2 separate regions of the Homo sapiens genome follow, and region 1 is linked to region 2. Evidence: promoter capture Hi-C in 16 types of primary human blood cells and fetal thymus (Javierre and others, 2016). All regions are on one chromosome and are shown on one strand. Each heading gives the region's core, a stretch centred on a gene start or on the middle of the fragment in contact. The rest is flanking DNA. Distances are from core to core; before and after follow the strand shown. Region 1 overlaps LOC124900418 (collagen alpha-1(I) chain-like). Region 2 holds the start of SLC35E1 (solute carrier family 35 member E1).

Region 1 (3,794 bases), core at 225-2,724, 740 kb after region 2:
TAACTTCTCTTAAAAGCAAAATTTATTCAAAGACCTGTGCTAACATTCTTAAATATCTGCTAGCCATAATAAAGAAATCAATATACTTTATGTTCTTAGCTCCCACAATTTAGCCCAAATATTTGCCCTGGTATGCTTATACTGGTCCAAGCAAGCATTAAGTCATAGCCTCTTCCTCTTCCTTATTTGAAGGTGTTTTTACCTTTCTCAGCATTCCACAAGTTACTTCCTTCTTCCTTTGTTCTCCTCCACCTTTGCCTCTTTTAAAACGTTCTAAGTTGCTAGCCAATCAGGACAAACACAGAATGTGAGGTCCCGTTCCAGCCAATGGAAACTGGACACAGCAGTAGGGTGGACACCTCAGGTTATAAATGACCCTGTCTCCTTTGCTCGGTGTACGCTCGTGGCAAAACTGCTGGCGAGTGTACCCTTTCTGCAGGGAGTAAAAATGGCCTTGCTAAATAAATTAATGTTAAAGTGCTATTTCTTTATGGCACCAAAAACCAAGCATTTCAAACACTATTTATTCTTAATTAGATGAAGAAGGAAGTCTTTGAAGAAGAACCTCTACTTTTCTTTTTACATCCTGACACGAGGAAGACAACAAGCCCAGTTGCCAGGAACCGCCCATTTGGGCTCCACGCAGCCAAGTGTCTTCTCGGGTCTCCTGTCTTTCTAACCCCAGGGGGCGGGACCTGAAGCGGTATCCAATCAGGGGCACTAGGGGCCGTACTAACTATCCAATCAGGAGCGTAGCCGTAGCCGGGGGACGTGGCGGGCTGTGGAAGCTTCAGTTTCTGGCGGTTTCTTTGTTTTTTGGGGTTTGGGGTCTTTGCTGCTCGCGCAGGCCCTCCTCCCCTCTAATCCCCGTCGCCGCCCCTCTGCGACGTGAGCAGGCCCAGGGGAGGACGCCGGGACACCCGGAAGCCGGAAATGCTGAGTGTGCGGGGCCGGACGTCCCGAGACCGGAGGAGGAGCTGGTGGAACCAGCCGGATCTGGCTGTGGCGGGACCCGGGCCTGTCCGCTGCGACTCCGGGGTCTGGGACCCGAGTTCCCCTGGAGCAGCTCGGCCCTCGGTCCTCTCGGCCGCAGGGTGGGGCTGGGCCGGCAGCTGGGACTCCGGGAGTCCTGTCCTGTCCCTGCGCAGTGACTGTCGCCCCAGAGCCCTCTCTGGGCAGCTCCGCATCTCCCCAGATTGTGCGGGGGCCACGGGAGGATCATGGGGGGATCCCGCCTCCGGCCTGGGGATCCTGTGGGAGGAGCCATGGCCTGTGGGCTCCCCAGTCCCGCCTTTCCCCCCGAAGGCGGCCCCCGCTTCTCCCTGAGTCTTCCAAAAGGTGTGCGAAGCCGGGTCTCCGCGACCCGGTCCCCCAGCCTCGCTCCCCCTTGGGCTGGCCGTAAATCTTGTAATGAACGTTTCCCTCCCCGCATTCTCTAACGCCAGCGTCTCCACTGCAATCCACATGGTTCTCAACTGTTAGTCCCTTTGTTGTACGTTTCAAATCGACGTGGCATTTAAATGATCATCGTTCCACAGAGCAGTGGCTGACTCTTTTAGGAAGATTTCTTTTCTGTCACCTTTTCACATATAAGGAAAGGAAAGGAAAACCACATGAAACGCCTCTGTTTACAAAAGCCTTTGTGCCGCTACTTTTATCTTAGACACCTCATCAGACTGCCTTTGGGTTGAGGTTCCTGTCACGCGTGTCCGTATAGAAGACACCCAATCAGGCTTTGTGTGAGCAACAAGGCTGTTAATTCACTTGGGTGCAAGTGGGCTGAGTCCGAAAAGAGAGTCAGTGAAGGGAGATAGGAGAGGGGCAGCTTTATAGGGCTTGGGTAGGCGTGGAAAGTTACAGTTAAAGGTGGTTATCCTCAGCAGAGGAGGGGGTCACAAGGTGCATGGTGGAGAGATGATGGGACTCATTGTCCAGGAGAAGAATGTCACAGGGTTGATTGATCAGTTGGGGCAGGGCAGGAACAAGTCATAATGGTGGACAAGTCATAATGGTGGAATGTCGTAAGGTGGGTTAATTAGTTAAGGCAGGAACTGGCTGTTTCACTTCTTTGTGGTTTTTCGGCTGCTCCAGACTTCTTGGCTCCTGCAGGCCACCTGGACGGATATGTGCAGGTCACAGGGGTTACAATGGCTAAGCTTCAGCTCACAGGCCTGACATTTTTGTCTTTTTATTTATAAAATATGAAGTTGTAGGAAAAGATTAAAAAAAAGTGTAAGTTCCTTCTGGGGATTACTGGGGTAGGGCTGATATTTCTCCGGACTGCTTCAAGTGTGACCAGGGACTGCGTGGACACCTTAAAGAAAATTTTATAATGAGTCTAGTAAGTTTCGGGTCTAGGGTGCATTTTTATGTAGCTAACAAGGTGCCAGTTAGCGTATTTTTGAGCTTGGAACTGCCCTAATAAAATAAGTTCTCTAAAAACAGTAATCAGGCATATTAGCTTTAATGTAGGTGGCGATGAGTTTTTAGGCCAAGGAAGGAATAATGTTTTATGTACCAAAGCCTTTTGTCCCCATTTTCCATCATACGAATAGTATTCCCTGTTGCTAAGCCGATGATACATTACCCTTTTCCCATAGGTGTGAGTGGCGGTCTGAATGGAGAAGTTCAATAGTTCTGATTGCAGATCCTATGCAGAAGAGATAATAAGGAAAATAATCTTTGTCTCCTGGATTAAGCTGAGGCTGGCAAAGAGTGAAATGTCCCAAGCCCTCTAACAACAAACAACATACTTTGTGTTGTCCTGGATGCTGGTCTGGTTGCCAAATATGTGGAACTGGCCCCATATGCGTGTACTGTTGTCCATTTCATGAGAGTAGGCTTGAGGACACCATGGGCAAGGATCTGATGGTTGCCAGCCTAAGCGTTTTAGACTTTTGACCCAGAGATTTTTTGTTTTGGGTGTGGAAAAAATTTTAGAGGATAGGGTCTCAAGATATAATCCTTTTTATAGGCGGCAGGTCTTAAGAGATGAGGGTCCAGAGGAACGGATGAAGCCTGCTTGGAAGCATGCTGGGATGGCCATTTGGAAGGAGTGTTGCAAGGAAGCATGGCCTTGGCTGGGCGCTGCCAGGAGCTTAAGGGTTGTAGGTTGTTTGTCTGATCGGCTCTCGGCCTAATCTTGTGGCTTCCAGGAGGAAGAGGAGAGATCAAGCTGGCTGTCTGATGGGCATGGCTTTATTCTGGAATGGTGAACCCAATGGAGAGGGTCCTGCAGATGGACGGCAGTTGGTGTGCTATAAATGACCGGGTAGGGTCTGGTCCATTGAGGCTGTAGAGTTTGAGGGGTCAGACTTTTGACAAGGACTGATCGTCCAGCTAGGGTGTCTTCATATGGCTGGGAATCTGGAGTAGGCAAGAGAAGATTAGCAGCTTGGCAAATTTCCTGTCTAGCCTGCTAGAGGACTGGAAGATAGTTGCCCAGGGGGCTGGTGTCTGGAACAAGATTGTGGCTGAGTAAGAAGGTGCATCCATATAAAATTGAAATGGGTTGTACCCTGTGGCTTCTCAAGGACAGGCCCTAATTCTGAGGAGGGCAAGTGGTAAAAGTACTGTCCAGTCCTTTTTAAGTTGGAGGCTGAGCTTGGTGAGGTGTGTTTTTAAAAGACCATTCATCCGTTCTACCTTTCCTGAAGATTGAGGACGGTAGGGGGTATGAAGTTTCCACTGAATACCAAGAGCCTGAGAAACTGTGGAAGTAGGGAGGCCAAATTGGGGGATTATATCTGTCAGAAGGGAAGAAATGACTGTAGTAGCCTTTCAGAGCTAGTGGG
Region 2 (3,520 bases), core at 612-3,111:
TACAGTCAGTCCAGAGCCAGTTTGAGAGCTAGCAGGGATTCCTGGCAAAAGCTTGGTGCAGAACACACTCCCCTCCCCAACAAAAGGCCATGGGCAAAGTGGCTTTGAAGGCAGGATGAGGTTGAACCCAGGCCTACCACCCACCAGCTGTGTGGCTCTGAGCTCATCTCTTCACTCCTGTGCACATGTCCCCATTTGGGGGGTGAGAATACCCCAGAGTTGTGAGAACTAAAACACAAAGCATGTCAGTGTGTCAGTGGAAGTATCTGACACTCAGCTGTGCTGTAGGGTGCCTATAGTTATACTTTCCTAATTTCACTGTGCCTATGTTTAACAGCTCTGCTGAGACATGGTGTCCCAAGGATGTGACTTTACTCTGATCCACAGAGGGTACAGCTGGAGGATATTAGGGTGCAGAGCTTGGCCTCCTATCAGCATCTCTAGAGTTTTGGGATAGGTTGCAGCTCCCCACTACCCCTGCCTGCAGGGACTACCATGCCTGTGTCCATGTATCCAGAAGGGCCTAGGGCCTTTGAGAATGCAAGGATAAGCTAAGATACCTTCCAACATTTGGGGAGCCAAGTTGGGTTGCTGCTTTCTACTTTTCTTTGAGACTGGGTCTCGCTCTGTCACCCAGGCTGCAGTGCAGTGGCGCCATCATAGCTCACTGGAACCTTGACCTGGGCTCAAGCCGATCCACCCACCTCAGTCTCCCTAGTAGTGGGTACCACAGGCGTGCGCCACCACGCCTGGCTAATTTTTGTATTTTTTGCAAAGATGAGGTTCTGCCATGTTATCGATGCCACGATCTCCAACTCCTGAGCTCAAGCAATCCGCCCACCTTGGCCTCCCAAAGTGCTGGGATTCCAAGCTTGACTCACTGCACCCAGCCGGTTGCTGCTTCTAATTTGACAAGTAAAAACACTGTAACGGAATTTTAACACCCTTTCCCCGAAAAAGTTGGAGGCACACGATGTGGAGAACAAATTATAGCCCTTGAATTAGTATAAGATCATCTTACTGAAAACCTCGTCCTGTTTTCCTCCACTGGGGCCTCCTGGGGCTGGTCCATCCCGGCTGGTCCTTGGACATCAGCCGTCAGGGCCCGGCACCTCCCCCTTCTGCAGAGCCTTGGAGACAGGTGTCCAAGGACGCTACCATGACCACGGTCCCCAGTGTGGCCAGGAAGCCTAAGACAAGTCGCTTCCCCATTCTGGACTTCGGTCTGTGAAATGCGGACAGTGATACCTACCGCACCGCGTTCCTAGGATTCAGTGGGATGATACCAGGGCCACGCCCGAGAACTGCGCACGTCGCGGTGGTTTCCAGAACATGATTCCAGGGATCGGGTGCTCCGGGATAGTCCCACTGCCAGAGTTTGGCCACGAGCGTGCGCCCCCAGTTTGCAGAGCGAGTTTAGCCCAAGAGCTTTTCACAAATGGTTTCTTTCCCTAAAAGGCCTTTTACCTTTGGTGTCAGCCGCCGCCAGCCATCAGGAATCAGGAATCTAGTTAGCGGTTGCCCTTGTATCCCTGGTCGAGGCCCTGATGTTTGGCCCACGCACAGACGCCGACGCTGCGAAGCCCTCCGCGCTTCTGTTCGCCCGTCCCGTTCGAGCTCCGGCTCCCGGTCACTGGGACCGCCCACGTCTCAGGTGGCACAGCTTGGACGCAGGTCTGTGTCCCCTTCTTCCGCTTCCGGCCTCGGCTCCGCCGGAAGCGCATCTACAGTGGACTGGGCCTGCACTCGAGACGTGGTGGCTGGCGCGTCGGCCGGCGCGGAGGGATGACGCGAGGAGGCAGCGACCAATGGGAAACGGCGTAGACCGGGGCGCCTGCCCCCCCGCCCAGCCCCGCCCCCGCCCGGCGTCGGGCCGTCGGACGGGCTGGAAGGGGCGGCCGCTCGGGCAGGATGGCGGCGGCCGCGGTGGGCGCGGGCCACGGCGCGGGGGGCCCGGGCGCAGCGAGCAGCAGTGGTGGGGCGCGCGAGGGCGCGCGGGTGGCGGCGCTGTGCCTGCTGTGGTACGCGCTGAGCGCGGGCGGCAACGTGGTCAACAAGGTGATCCTGAGCGCCTTCCCGTTCCCGGTGACCGTGTCGCTGTGCCACATCCTGGCTCTGTGCGCTGGGCTCCCGCCGCTGCTGCGCGCCTGGCGCGTGCCCCCCGCGCCGCCCGTCTCGGGCCCCGGACCCAGTCCGCATCCGTCGTCCGGCCCGCTGCTGCCGCCGCGCTTCTACCCGCGCTACGTGCTACCGCTCGCCTTCGGCAAGTACTTCGCGTCCGTGTCAGCGCACGTCAGCATCTGGAAGGTGCCCGTGTCCTATGCACACACCGGTAGGTTCCGCGCCCGGCCTCGGGGGCGGCGGCCGGGCCCGCCGCTTCGGGTTTGGGCGCATGGATAGGAGTGCGCCGCCCGGGGCGCGTCCCGCCGGACTGAGAAGTCAGCAGAGGGGCTGCCAAGGGTTTGGTAGGGGAGGGACACGCACGGGGTTCTCAGGGAGAAGAGGAGCTGAGAAGAGAGCTGAGAGGTAAGCAGGACAGACCACAACAGCCGTGGCAGGAGGAAGCCCTACCGAAAGAGAAGGGGCGAAGAGGTGTGAGGGGCTGCCAGGCCCTCCCATCCCGCCGTGGAGGTGGAACAGGTTGGGCCCTGAAATTCAGGCAGCCCCCTGAGTGCCCATCCCTCTCTTTGCAGTCAAGGCCACCATGCCCATCTGGGTGGTCCTCCTGTCCCGGATCATTATGAAGGAGAAGCAGAGCACCAAGGTAACCCCGGGCAGGGACTCTGGGCAGATGGGAGCTCCAGGGGGTTCCTCCCTGTTGCCAACTGGTGACGTGGTCAGGATCCTGGTCTGCAGGCTGCCTGGCTTCCCGTCAAATAGGGAAGTCAGTGTAGAGGTCTCCAGTGGCCTTTTACTACTCAAGTTCTAGAATCACCCTGTGAGCAGTGGTGTGTGGAGTATGTGTCCCTCTGTGATCTCTGCTGTGTGGTCTTAGGAACACTGTTGTCCCTTTCAGATCCAATTTTCCTCCCCGTTTTGATTCCCTACCTGGGTTTGCTGGTAGGTGATGGGTTGGTCACATCTTGGCCATACACCCCATGTGTGGCCTTTCCAGTGGGACTAGGGATGGATGGATCAGAACGCTGTCGGTTAGGTGTTCACTTTTTTTTTTTTTTTTTTGAGACGGAGTTTTACTCTTGCCCAGCCTGAAGTCCAGTGACACAATCTCAGCTCACTGCAACCTCCGCCTCCCAGGTTCAAGCAGTTCTCCTGCCTCAGCCTCTCAAGTAGTTGGGACTACAGACGTGCACTACCACACCTGGCTAATTTTTTTGTATTTTTAATAGAGACAGGGTTTCACCATGTTGCCAGGCTGGTCTCAAACTCCTGACCTCAAGTGATCCGTCCGCCTCAGCCTCCCAAAGTGCTGGTATTACAGGCGTCAGCCACTGCACTTGGCTAGGTTTTCACTTCTTGACAAGAGATTTCTGTCAGGGGACCTCTGGGATCAGAAGCCAGA

Evidence for each region. Contacts are between HindIII fragments. The CHiCAGO score rates a contact against its expected background, and 5 or more counts as called.
Region 1: a fragment that was not itself captured here is called in contact with the fragment with the promoter of SLC35E1 in region 2 in 1 of 17 cell types (fetal thymus); the score reaches 6.7 in fetal thymus.

What each region holds. Positions count from the first base shown.
Region 1 is chr19:15,834,074-15,837,867 of GRCh38, reverse strand. It overlaps LOC124900418 (collagen alpha-1(I) chain-like), which reads right to left. Exons shown (of 3, transcript XM_047439793.1): 3 at 488-2,650. The coding sequence starts at 1,466. The coding sequence ends at 861. UCA1 (urothelial cancer associated 1) reads right to left here. Exons shown (of 3, transcript NR_015379.3): 3 at 1,547-3,366. Among named protein-coding and RNA genes, the nearest start is that of UCA1, 7.0 kb to the right of the region's middle. RefSeq lists enhancers at 431-580, 721-950, 1,731-2,930 and a silencer at 1,081-1,300. The HindIII fragment of the contact is 1,368 bases long and covers 791-2,158 here.
Region 2 is chr19:16,570,756-16,574,275 of GRCh38, reverse strand. SLC35E1 (solute carrier family 35 member E1) reads left to right here and starts at 1,861. Exons shown (of 6, transcript NM_024881.5): 1 at 1,861-2,332; 2 at 2,694-2,764. The coding sequence starts at 1,912. LOC105372295 (a long non-coding RNA gene) reads right to left here and starts at 1,726. Exons shown (of 3, transcript XR_936360.3): 1 at 1,468-1,726. RefSeq lists enhancers at 1,555-1,644, 952-1,826 and silencers at 1,745-1,964, 2,095-2,204, 2,365-2,494. The HindIII fragment of the contact is 21,135 bases long and covers 874-3,520 here.